Regions from separate parts of the Homo sapiens genome. Here regions 1, 2 and 3 are each linked to region 4. The links are contacts of gene promoters, found by promoter capture Hi-C in blood cells and fetal thymus (Javierre and others, 2016). All regions are on one chromosome and are shown on one strand. The core of a region is centred on a gene start or on the middle of the fragment in contact, and the rest is flanking DNA. Distances in the headings are between cores, read along the strand shown. Region 1 overlaps XYLT1 (xylosyltransferase 1). Region 2 holds the start of XYLT1 (xylosyltransferase 1). Region 3 has its middle 460 kb from the start of XYLT1. Region 4 holds the start of RPS15A (ribosomal protein S15a).

Region 1 (2,928 bases), core at 108-2,607, 1.4 Mb before region 4:
TCTTTCCCATGAGGGTTTTGAAGGGCTGATGGGGTGGTGTCCAGAGTGAAGGATACAGGAAGGTCAAAGACAGAACCATCCAGGGATTCTGCTGTTCCACTCCCAGGAGATAAGATTTGACTTCCAGAGTTCCGGACACAGATGTTCGCCCATGGGTTTTCATAAGTTTAATAGGGTATCCTTCTGGGGAAGGATAAGGAAAAGAAGGACCATCATTTTAAAAACACACCGTGGAAGTTCTCTCATAGTCCCTGGGGTAGACTGGGTAGAGACACGTTTCCCAAAGGGTAGCACACACATCTCTGATAGGAAGTTTAGGTGACATCAGAGGGTGCGTACAGGAACAATATTTTCACAGTTTAATATCTATTTTAATGTTGTGCAAAAAAATATATAACTAGCCCTTCAAACTTGTGGTTCCATGAATATTATTGCTTGAGACAGTGTTTCTCAATCTCAACACCATTAGTATTTAGGGCTGGATCATTCTTTTTTGAGACCGAGTCTCACTCTGTCACCCAGGCTGGAGTGCAGTGGCTCAATCTTGGCTCACTGCAGCCTCTACCTCCTGGGTCCATGTGATTCTCCTGCCTCAGCCTCCCAAGTAGCTGGGATTACAGGCACATACTACCATGCCTGGCTATGTTTTGTATTTTTTTTCAGTAGAGATGGGGTTTCACCATGTTGGCCAGGCTGGTCTCGAACTCCTAGCCTCAAGTGATCTGCCTACCTCAGCCCCCCAAAGTGCTGGGATACAGGCGTTAGCCACCGTGCCAGGCCCAGGACCAGATAATTCTTTCCAGTGGGGAGCTGGCCTGTGTGTTGTAGGATATTTAACAGCAACCTGGGTCTCCACCTACTAGATGCCAGTTGTAAACCCCCCAACCAGATGAGACCACCACCAAATGTCTTCAGACGTTGCCAAATAACCACTGGGAATCAAAACCACCCCCCGGTTTAGAACCATTAGATTAAGGTAAGTCTATTTCTGAAAGCAAAGTGAGTTATGTTAAGGAAAAATGTATTTTTAGGTGACTTTATAGAATAGATGAAATTTACATAAGGCAAAGGTGGTCAAGGTGATAAGGACAGACAAAACCAAGCCAGAGGACAGCCAAACAGGCAGAGGAAACCGAATCCTTTTCCTCCTCAGAGCTGCACCTTCTATACTTCCCTGCCGGCCCTGGCGCCTGGTCAGCCCTGGGGCCCCCGTGGCTATACCTGTGTGCCAGAGAATGCAAGGACAGAAAAGCACAAGGAAACTGTGAAGATCTGCTGGCCTTCCCCATCAGGGAGGAAGCAAGGAAGGTCTCCTCATTCCTCTTAGGAGAACCCAAGCAGAGATGCCAAGGAGAGGGCAAGGACCCAAGGTGGAGGAGGCAAAGGCCAGGGGAGCAGGTGGTCTTTTCCAGTCCACCCCAGAAACCCTTGAAATCGCTGAGCTGTCATTCAGCCTTGAAACGTTCGAACAGGTTTGACTGTGTCTGACACTTGCAAGCTATTCACTGTGGGGCTCTGAACGAGGCCTGTCCTGTCTGCCTACTCTCTTTACTGTCAGCCAAACCCAAAGAGCTAAGGAAATGATTAATCCAAAGATAAGAAACGTCCCCTTCAGATCCAGCAGGAAAAGTAACAGTTCTATTGGTTTAAAAAGCTGCCACTTGCCGGACGCAGTGGCTCATGCCTGTAATCCCAGCACTTTGGGAGGCCAAGGTGAGCGGATCACAAGGTCAGGAGATCAAGACCATCCTGGCTAACACGGTGAAACCTCGTCTCTAGAAAAAATATTAAAAAATTAGCCGGGCGTGGCAGCGTGCGCCTGTAGTCCCAGCTGCTGGGGAGGCTGAGACAGAAGAATGGCGTGAACCCGGGAGGCAGAGCTTGCAGTAAGCCGAGATCATGCCACTGCACTCCAGCCTGGGCAACAGAGACTCGGTCTCAAAAAAAAAAAAAAAAAAAAAAAAAAACGCTACCACTCACAAGCACTTAGCACGTACCCCGGACTTTATAAACATCATTTCCTGTGACCCTCAACCACAACTCTGCAAGGTGGGCACTATCACTGGGATGACGTTTCAGATGCGAAGACACTGGCTTAGACATTATGTGGCCCCATGAACACTGCAGGGCTAGAAGACACAGAGGTGGAATTCCACCTGGCTCTGTTGAACTCCAAGGCCTATACTCATAGCTGCTGCACTGTCCTAGCTCCCAGGAAGGCAGAAAGCAGACAGTCAGGGCCGTGCCCTCCCTTACAAGACCCGCTGGTCATCCTCCTCCCCACACGGAAATGCCACTGCAATCACAATTCCTCAGAATGGCCTAACACGCAAGCAGATGAAAGGGTGCAACTTCCTTCCATATGCTGCCCTCACTGCCAAGGAATAAAAGTCCTCCAAGTTCAGGCATCAAAGAGTAGCATCTTCCCACTTCATGGCTCTCCTCTGTCTCCTCTCTCCTTTGCATGAACCTCCGCATGATGGTTGGGCAGGAGCGAAGGACAGACGAAAACTCAAAAGAAATGATTATGGTTCTCGCCACAGGTGGGAGGGGCACCAGACACCTGGGTGCGAATGTGCACCCATGCACACCCACACCATTGCACACACGTGTACACTATATGCCAGTGTGTATACATACATGTGCAGGCACACACACATCCAAATGGGACCAGGGGCAGCCATGGGCCTGTCCAGCCTTTCAGAGCCACGGGACAAGTCCCCTTGAGAGCTGGAATACTAAGGCTGAGATAAGTGGCCAAGACAGGAAAGATACTTACCTGAGTCTCCAGGGTGATGAGCGGACTTGGGTGTGGATCCTGTAGGATGAAAGGAGAAAATGCACGTGAGGAGTGAAAAAAAGTTAACTTACTACCCCAGCATCTTTTTCTTTCTTTCCTTTTTTTTTTTTTTTAAGAGACAGGGTCTC
Region 2 (2,744 bases), core at 42-2,541, 1.3 Mb before region 4:
GACGGTGTGGTCGGACACACAGCTGGTGACCTGAACCGGCCGCAACAAGACAGAAAGACAGAGACAACCAGCTAGGAGAAGGAGCCATGCCCTGAAACTGGAGATGGGGAGGAGATAAAGTCACAGAGGGCATGGGAGACGGCAAGGTTAGAGACAGAGAAGGTGAAGACGGAAGGCTCAAACATCCAGAGAAGAGAAACAGAAGACCCAAAGTAAGACCAGACACCCCGGACTGAGTATTGATTCAGGGGCATGGTCGGGGACTTGGGACGCCCAGCTCAGCCCTCATCGCAGGCCAGGACGAACAGAGGGCTCAACTGTCTGCACCCAGCTCGGCAAAAACCAGAGAGATGCTGCTGCGACAACCGCCCAGGAACAGCGGCTGAGGATCCGGGGAGATCCACTCACTCAGGCAGGGAGCGAGTCACCAAGACCTACACGCACGGAGCAAGTCACCTGGGGTCCCCAGCAAGAGTGATGGGGAACAGGAACCCAGCCAGGCTCCGGTAACCCCCAAAGCGCCCCCGCTGGAGAAAACTTCCCCCAGACCCCAAGGGGTCCGTGCTCAGACTCTGAAAGGGGCAGCCCACGACCCCTGAGCCTTGGCAGGGACCCCACCCGGCTTCCCGGGGCAAGAGGCGATGTGGAGTCGGTAGGCTTGCAGAGTCCCAGTCTGATGACCGAGTTCAAGGGCTAGGGGGGCGTGGGGTCGGGCTGCCTTCCTCCCTCCCTCGCCGCGGGGCGCGAGCCGAAAGGGCATCTTACCAGAGCCCGGGCGGGCAGTGCCCCCCGGCTGGCCGGCTGCTGTCCCCGCGGTTCTCCGGGGCCGCCTCCCCGCGCCCGCGCCTGGGGCCCCCGTCCTCCTCCTCCTCCGCCGCCGCCTCCTCCTCCTCCTCGGGCTGCAGCCGGCTCGGCGGGCAGGTCCCGGCGCTCCCGGCGCGGGGCCGGGGCCGGGGGCGGCTGCTCCCCGCCGCCGACCGCTGCGCCCCCGCGGCGCTCCCCGGCCCCGGAGTCGAGGCTGCTGAAATTCCACACGACCAGCGTCTGCAGCAGCAGCACCGTGAGCGCCGCGAGCAGCGCCGAGTGCGAGCGCCGGGCCAGCCTCCGGGCGCACGGCGCCGCCACCATCTTCGGAGCGCGGCCGGCGAGCGAGGCGCGGGGACCCCGGCACGCTCCGGGCCGCCCCCGCGCTCCCCGCAGCTCCCGCGGCCGCCGGCTGCCGCTCGGGCTCCCGCTCGGGCCGCCGCCGCCGCCCCCCTCCCCACACCCCTGTCCCCGCTGGAGGGGAGGGTGATGGGGAAGGCGCCGGGGGGACGCGGGCCGAGGCGGAGAGGGCGGGGCCTGGGGGAGGAGCCGAGGGAGGAAAAGGAGGAGGGAAAGGAAGGGGGTGGGGGCGATCAGAGAAGACAGACACCCCTCAGGACGTAGTGGGAGTAGGATGGGGGGCGAGGGGGACAATTCCCAAGGCGGAAAAAGAGAGGCAGGGGCCGCGAAACAGGGGACCTTTGGTTGAGGGTGGGCCCGCTCAGAATCCAGGGGAGGTCAGGAAGAGAGGGGGTCCCGAGGTCCTGTTTTCCCTGTGGGCCGCTGGAAGGAGGCAGTGCGTGGAGGAAGCTCCTAGCCCCGGAGTTCGCGGTCCAGGGATCTTCTGTCGGTACCAGACCGGTTGGCAGGTGGACACGTGAGAAACATTTCAGGAGTGTCAGAGCCACAGTCTGATCCCTTCATCCTGGGCTTGAAGGGGTGGGGAGGAGGCTTTGGGTGAGTTTCTGGAGTTAATCAGCACAAGCTCTGTGAGTGACTCCTGAATCACACACAATCCCCGGTGCCAACGATGTACTAAGTGTTCACTGAGTCACTTCTCTGGTCCCTGAGGACTCACAAGCCAAGAGACTCCAAACCCAGTTGGCAAGTGGTATAGCGGCAAAAGGGAGACCCGTGGAGTTACTCAACCTTCGCAGGATGCAAGCCCCAAAGGCTGGCCCCGCAGCCTCCCAGCGTGTCCTTTTCCCCATCCATCCTGAAGTCCCCCTTCCTGTCTGCACAGGGCCCAGGTCCTGGGGAAACAGGTCTTGCTCTTGAAAGTGGAGTTCTTTCCCATCCTGACTGGTCTGTCCCGGTGACCTTGAGCCAGGAGGAGGAGGACTCCTCCCTGAGCCCAAGCTTTCTCCTCTGTCGTTTAGGCAGAATGATCCCAATGGACTCAAATTTCATCCCGAGCCTTCTCTGACTCAGTCTTTCTGGTTTTTCCCTCCCTTGTCCTCTTGCCCAGGGCTTTATACACAGCAGCGCAGAACAGTGAGCATATGGGATGGCGTTGGTGTCCCATACGGGACCTAGCACTCTGGGAATACAACAGCAGATCAAATCAGTTTGTGAATTGAGGACTTGGCGTGAATGCTTCGCATCTTGTCTGCTGTGCTTTTTCACCTCATCCTAATTTACAAAGAGAAGAAAGTGGAGTGTAATGAAGGCTCATCAGACAATGAGGCAGGGAGTGGGAAGAGATTGTTTCATCCACTCCACAAGCATCCGTGAATACAAAGCTTGTGTCAGACACTGGGCCAGGTGCACGCATCCAAAGGTGAATGAGGTTTAATCTCATCTTCAGCAAGCCTGAGGTCTAGAGAAGCCTGATGTGGATGTTAATCATTAAAATATAGTGAGATAGGCCTGGGCGCGGTGGCTCATGCCTGTAATCGCAGCACTTTGGGAGGCCAAGACAGGAGGATCACCTGAGGTCA
Region 3 (2,763 bases), core at 251-2,750, 1.8 Mb before region 4:
TTTGGAGACAGTCTCGCTCTGTCACCCAGGCTGGGGTGTAGTGGCATGATCTGGGCTCACTGTAGCCTCTGCCTCCTGAGTTCAAGCGATTCTTGTGCTTCAGCCTCCCAAGTAGCTGGGATTTCAGGCATGCACCACCACGTTTGGCTAATTTTTTATATTTTTAGTAGAGATGGGGTTTCGCCATGTTGTCCAGGCTGGTCTCAAACTCCTGAGCTCAGGCAATCTGCCCGCCGTGGCCTCCTGAAATGCTAGGATTATAGGCACGAACCACCATGCCTGGCCTTATTTATTTCTAGGTATTTCTTTGTTCTCATTAACATTCTCCCTGTCACCCCACTATTCTTTCCAGCCTCTGTTAACCATCCTTCTACTCTCTATCTCCATAAGTTCATTGTTTTTATTTTTAGATCCCACAAATAAATGAGAACATGCAGTTTGTCTTTCTGTGCCTGGCTTATTTCACTTAACATAATGACCTCCAGTTCCATCTATGTTGTTGCAAATGACAGGACCTCATTCTTTTTCATGGCTGAATAGTACTCCAAATGGAAAGTCTCTTTAGTGATCTTCTGACTCAGTCAATAAAATGCATCAATATTCCACTGGGTATGCATGCCTCTATTCTAGATTCTGGAGGTACTGGAGAAAACAAAACAGGCAAAACTGCCACCCTCATGGAGCATGAGTTCTGGTAGGAGAGACAGAAAAAAAATGCAAGAAAATACGCAATATTTCACGTGTTGATGAGAGCTATGGAGACAAAGGAGAAGGGAGAAGACCAAGGTGTTCTAATGAAGGATGATCAGGAAGGCTCGTGTTATAAGGTGACATTGTGCAGAGACGTGGGGGAAATGAGTGAATGTGTCTTGAGGCTGAGAGACAGCCGTCTGGCAAGTCCACAGGCCCCTAAGCAGAAACAAGCTTGGCGTGATGGAGGAATCACAAGGGGCTGTAATGGCTGGAGCAGAGCTTATCCTCCCAGTTGAGGAGGTAGGAAGTAGAGGTTGAGATTTTGGAGTCGAGCAGACCTGAGATATCTAATATACAATTTTAAGGCACTGGTGTTGCTGTGATAGAACCTTTCTGGGTCACCCCAAAGTACTGACAATGACAAATATATTGGGCAGGCGGTGTGGGGAATGTCAGAGAAAGAGGCTGAGTTTTTCTCTGGGTCCATGCAGTGCAGAGAGAAGAGAATAAATGTGAGACAGAGAGAAACGGGAGCAGGAACTTGGAGGTAGAAATAATCAAAAGAAACAGGAACCCTGAGGAATCTGCAAAAGTCTTGGCAAGATGTTCAACTCATAGGATGTGGGATATAAGCTCAGGCCAAATTTATTTAAAATGCAAAGGAAGAGGTGACCACAGCTTACCTCTGGGCCAAGCTTATTTAGTATACCAAATATTTGAAGAATCATTTCTTCTTAATTTGGTTTGTTCTTAGTAGATGCTCCCACTGGTTTAAACCTGAATTTCAAGCTGTTGTGTTTTTTTTAAACCTACACTAAATAATACACGGGTGGGTGAAAAGCAGAAGGAGGCTTTGTGAATGAGCTTTTTTAAATAGTGAGATTCCTTGGCATGCATAAAATGTTATTTGGGATAGAAGAAAGCTTGATTTATGAAAATCTTCCCTAGGCCACGTAGTGCAGAATCAGGGGACTCTGGCATCGCCGCCCGGCATGCAAATAAACGTTTCCAGCAGTTCTTTAGAGTATGCATTTCTTGTTTTTTTGGCTGCAGAAAGTATGGTGTCCAAAAATTAGGTAGGGTTTGCTTTGCATTCCAGTTGTCCGTGTTGCCAGAAAACAATGCCATCTGGATGTCATTCCTTCACCTAGAGTAAGGCGCTGTCACCATGCGTAAGCATTATAACATAATCTCTGGGTTACAGTCCTGGCTGGTCACTGACTAGCTTGGAAAGTTTACCACAAATCCTCTGAGTCTCACTTCTCCCTACTGTAAAGGCAGGATAATTATTAATTTGAGAACACGTTTGGTTGTACTGAGGATCCAATAAGAGAATATTTGGCAGAAAAATCTGGCCAATGGTAAATGGTATTCAGTAAATAAACACATTTTGGTCGTCAGCAGAGAGCTACCTGGATTTTATTTTATTTCCTTCCTTTTTTTTTTATCGTAGAGAAAAATGACAGGGATTCACTTTCTAAGAAATTACACTATGTTCAATGACTTCCCATCAAGAGTAGGCAATGTTCCGTATCCTGCCATTGGTAAGTATCAAATGGGCCCGTGTCAGACAAGTCATGGCTTTTAATCTCCCTTTATTGGCCACGTCACCTGTCAGTGACCTTGACTGTTGCCGGCTGCCTCATGTTCTGCAGTTTCCTGATAAGTGTGTTTCCGGCTTTTGAAGTTATGTCTGCCGAAAACCACATCTGGTTCACCGCCGCCTCAACAGACACACAATGAAATACAAAAGGCTAATTCTGCTGTGTACGCAATCCATGTTTCTTTCCCCAGAGGATTCCAGATGGAGTGAACTCAGTAGAGGCGGTGCTTCGACGGCTGATGATCTTGCGGAGAGGAGAGAGGAGCATTAGTTACGGTTTTAAGTCCCGGCTGAACTGGCAGGGGTTACATGACCTCAGACTCAGGGGTAAGTGCGCAAGCTCTCGCCCCTGGAAGGGCTGTGATGCCTTTCAACAGCCACACCTCTCCGTTGAACCCATCAACACCCTTTGTGCAGAGGTGGGTTGAGATTTCTCAGATGAAGTAACATTTCCTACTCTAGTAGTC
Region 4 (2,786 bases), core at 127-2,626:
AAACACAGCGGCAGCAGACTTACCATGCTTCATCATCACAGTGAGAAACCGGACGATGACTTTGGAGCACGGCCTAATAAGCACCTGGCGTTTGCCTCTCTTTTCGGCATTGTTGATACTCTTGAGAGCATCTGCCAGGACATTCATGCGCACCATTGTGGCTGTTCAAGGAAGACAAAACAGGAGGTTTTACTGGCATTGCCAACATCAACAGACACCAACCATTACACTGCGGAAGTATCCTTTCCTTTCTGGCCCCACCTTGGCGAAGTTTTCTCAAGTCTAAGCAGGCTGCTTCTCCATTTCCCACCACCCAGGAAAATTCCTATTTACTACGGTTGTTGAAAACAGGTTATCGGGACGTCAGCCTGCACATTTTGAAACTCATTCATTCACTAACCACTCTTCTTCGAATCGTGCCACACACCAACGTCTGGAGATAATAAAATGTGGGACAAAATCCACTTGACACAAGACAACGTGAGAACTGGCAGAAACTGCCAGCTACCGGAAGGAAAACATCGGGTATAGTCGATCAGTGATTCAGAACAGAAGCAGAGTATCATCGGCAACATTTTCCAAATTGCTGAAAATCAGCAGATTCCATACTATTAACATTGTACTTTAAATCAGTTCACTCTCACCTACAATGAACACATCTAACTATTAAACATCCATCTTCGTGCCATTTAAAATTGCGTCCAACAGCAAGAGCCACAGTGGCAAACAGAAACATTTTACATGCTTGTCAGACTGGACTCTCTTCTAATGGGCAAGAACCGCACACTACACTGAAGTTTTGAAAGACCAAAGTGCCAATAGTAAAGAGTAGAACTTAAATTCCTTAAGTTCAAAAGTGTCTAAAGAAAAACTCTGCGGCCCAGAAGATCCAAGTTGGCACCCAGCAAACTGCCAACCCCGGCACGATGCAGCTTTTACCTGCTGGGTGGCCTCAGCCTCCCAAGCTCCCAGCGCGGCCGCAGCAGTGAGAAGCTGCACGGCCCACCAGCCCCGATGTTGCCCGCCGCCCGGGGCCAAGGCGCTGCCTCAGCACTAAAGGGAGATCCAGACGCTGCGGCCCGAACCGGAGCTACCGCCTAGCTGGGCAGTCGAAGGCTCCGGCTCCCGCCCGCGCTGCGGCCTGCACCCCACGGACCGGGATCCCCTGAGTGCACAGTCTGGGGCGCCCAGCCATGGCTCTCCTCTATGCCTGTCCAGGAACCGGCAAGGCCAGGATCCTCGGCCAAGGTGGGGACCAGCCTCCTCGCAGGACACCGAGACCGAACCTTAGATTGCAGGATGGCGCCGATGGCAGACGGATGAAATTGGAGCTCTCAGAGAGTGCTACTCACCGGCGCGGAAAGATGGCGGAAAGAGGACGGGAGGGGAGAGCGCACGGAGTTATGGGAAGCGGGAGAGCTATCGCGAGACTTTCAAAGGCCCGGCAAAAACAAGGACCGCCTAGGAGAAGGACGAGGGTGAGGGAAAGGCGGAGCCTCCTCAGGGGTTGGCAGTTGAGAGTCGATGGAATCGACCTCCCCCGGTGGGGCCTGGGAGAGGCAAGGTGAGCCGTTCGTTGGAGGTTCGTCTACATTTTTTTTTTTTTTTTGAGACAGTTTCGCTCTTGTAGCCCAGACTGGAGTGCAGTGGCGTGATCTCGGCTCACTGCAACCTGCGCCTCCCGGGTTCAAGTGATTCTCCTGCCTCAGCCTCCTGAGTAGCTGGAACTACAGAGATGCGCCACCACGCCCGGCTAATTTTTGTATTTTTAGTAGAGACGAGGTTTCCCCAAGTTGGCGAAGATGTTCTTGATCTCCTGACCTTGCGATCCGCCCGCCTCGGCCTCCGAAAGTGCTGGGATTACAGGCGGGAGCCACCGCGCGGGCCTTAATTTTTATTTTAGTTTACTTTTGATAAGGAGTCTCGCTCTGTCGCCCAGGCTGGAGTCCAGTGGCGCGATCTTGGCGCACTGCAGCCTCCGCCTCCCGGGTTCAAGCGGTTCTCCTGCCCCAGCCTCCAGAGTACCTGGGATTACAGGCGCCCGCCATCACACCCGGCTAATTTTTGTATTTTTAGTAGAGACGGGGTTTCACCATGTTGGCCAGGCTCGTCTCAAACCCCTGACATCAAGTGATCTGCCCACCTCGGCCTCCCAAAGTGTTGGGATTACAGGCGTGAGCCACCACACCCGGCTAAAAATTTTTTTTTAATTAAAAAGTTAAGTTCAGACAAAAGTCACCCAACAGTTGTTTACTGAGCACCCATGTACCAGACGCTAGCAAGGCCCTGGGGTACGAGGTGCCCACACAGGCACCATTTAGCCAGTTCTGTCCCTGCCGGTTCTTCCAGCTTCGTCCTCTCTCACACGTCAATGCCCCTGCTCATTCGTTGCATTTCCTCTTCCCTCTAGCATGGTACCTGGATATTTGCTAAATAAAACTTAAACCTTTTATTTTTGTTCTTTTTTAAAATTTTTCCTAGACAGGGTCCTGCTCTGTTGCCCAGGCTAGAGTGCAGGGGTACACTCAGCTCAATGCAACCTCAAACTCATGGACTCCAGTGAACCTCCTGCCCAGGTCTCCCAAAGTGGTGGGATTACAGGTAGGGTACCTTATAGACATCTAAGGACCACACAGGGTACTTCATTAATCAGATTCATAAATCCAATCATAAATATTATATTGGCTAAGTTATAAAGAAAGTGAGACATGAAGATTCCAGCTTTTTTTATTTTTTCCCCTTTTACACAAAACAAAGTAGAAGAAATAATACAGGATTAAAACTGC

What was found. Contacts are between HindIII fragments. The CHiCAGO score rates a contact against its expected background, and 5 or more counts as called.
Region 1: a fragment that was not itself captured here is called in contact with the fragment with the promoter of RPS15A in region 4 in 1 of 17 cell types (M1 macrophages); the score reaches 5.5 in M1 macrophages.
Region 2: the fragment with the promoter of XYLT1 here is called in contact with the fragment with the promoter of RPS15A in region 4 in 1 of 17 cell types (total CD4 T cells); the score reaches 5.0 in total CD4 T cells.
Region 3: a contact is called between a fragment that was not itself captured here and the fragment with the promoter of RPS15A in region 4, in 1 of 17 cell types (total CD4 T cells). The highest score is 5.1, in total CD4 T cells.

What each region holds. Positions count from the first base shown.
Region 1 is chr16:17,355,233-17,358,160 of GRCh38, forward strand. It overlaps XYLT1 (xylosyltransferase 1), which reads right to left. Exons shown (of 12, transcript NM_022166.4): 2 at 2,780-2,818. Among named protein-coding and RNA genes, the nearest start is that of XYLT1, 110 kb to the right of the region's middle. The HindIII fragment of the contact is 3,736 bases long and covers 1-2,928 here.
Region 2 is chr16:17,469,669-17,472,412 of GRCh38, forward strand. XYLT1 (xylosyltransferase 1) reads right to left here and starts at 1,292. Exons shown (of 12, transcript NM_022166.4): 1 at 766-1,292. The coding sequence starts at 1,128. LOC107987234 (a long non-coding RNA gene) reads right to left here and starts at 759. Exons shown (of 2, transcript XR_001752091.2): 1 at 1-759. LOC105371106 (a long non-coding RNA gene) reads right to left here. Exons shown (of 3, transcript XR_933144.3): 3 at 1,339-2,436. RefSeq lists enhancers at 72-341, 462-511, 1,286-1,787. The HindIII fragment of the contact is 8,582 bases long and covers 1-2,161 here.
Region 3 is chr16:17,011,385-17,014,147 of GRCh38, forward strand. No RefSeq gene overlaps it. Among named protein-coding and RNA genes, the nearest start is that of XYLT1, 460 kb to the right of the region's middle. RefSeq lists enhancers at 2,279-2,423, 2,461-2,560 and a cis regulatory region at 2,343-2,360. The HindIII fragment of the contact is 228 bases long and covers 1,387-1,614 here.
Region 4 is chr16:18,788,958-18,791,743 of GRCh38, forward strand. RPS15A (ribosomal protein S15a) reads right to left here and starts at 1,377. Exons shown (of 5, transcript NM_001019.5): 1 at 1,287-1,377; 2 at 24-161. The coding sequence starts at 156. ARL6IP1 (ARL6 interacting reticulophagy regulator 1) reads right to left here. Exons shown (of 6, transcript NM_015161.3): 6 at 2,712-2,786. RefSeq lists enhancers at 330-1,047, 985-1,614. The HindIII fragment of the contact is 4,087 bases long and covers 1-2,786 here.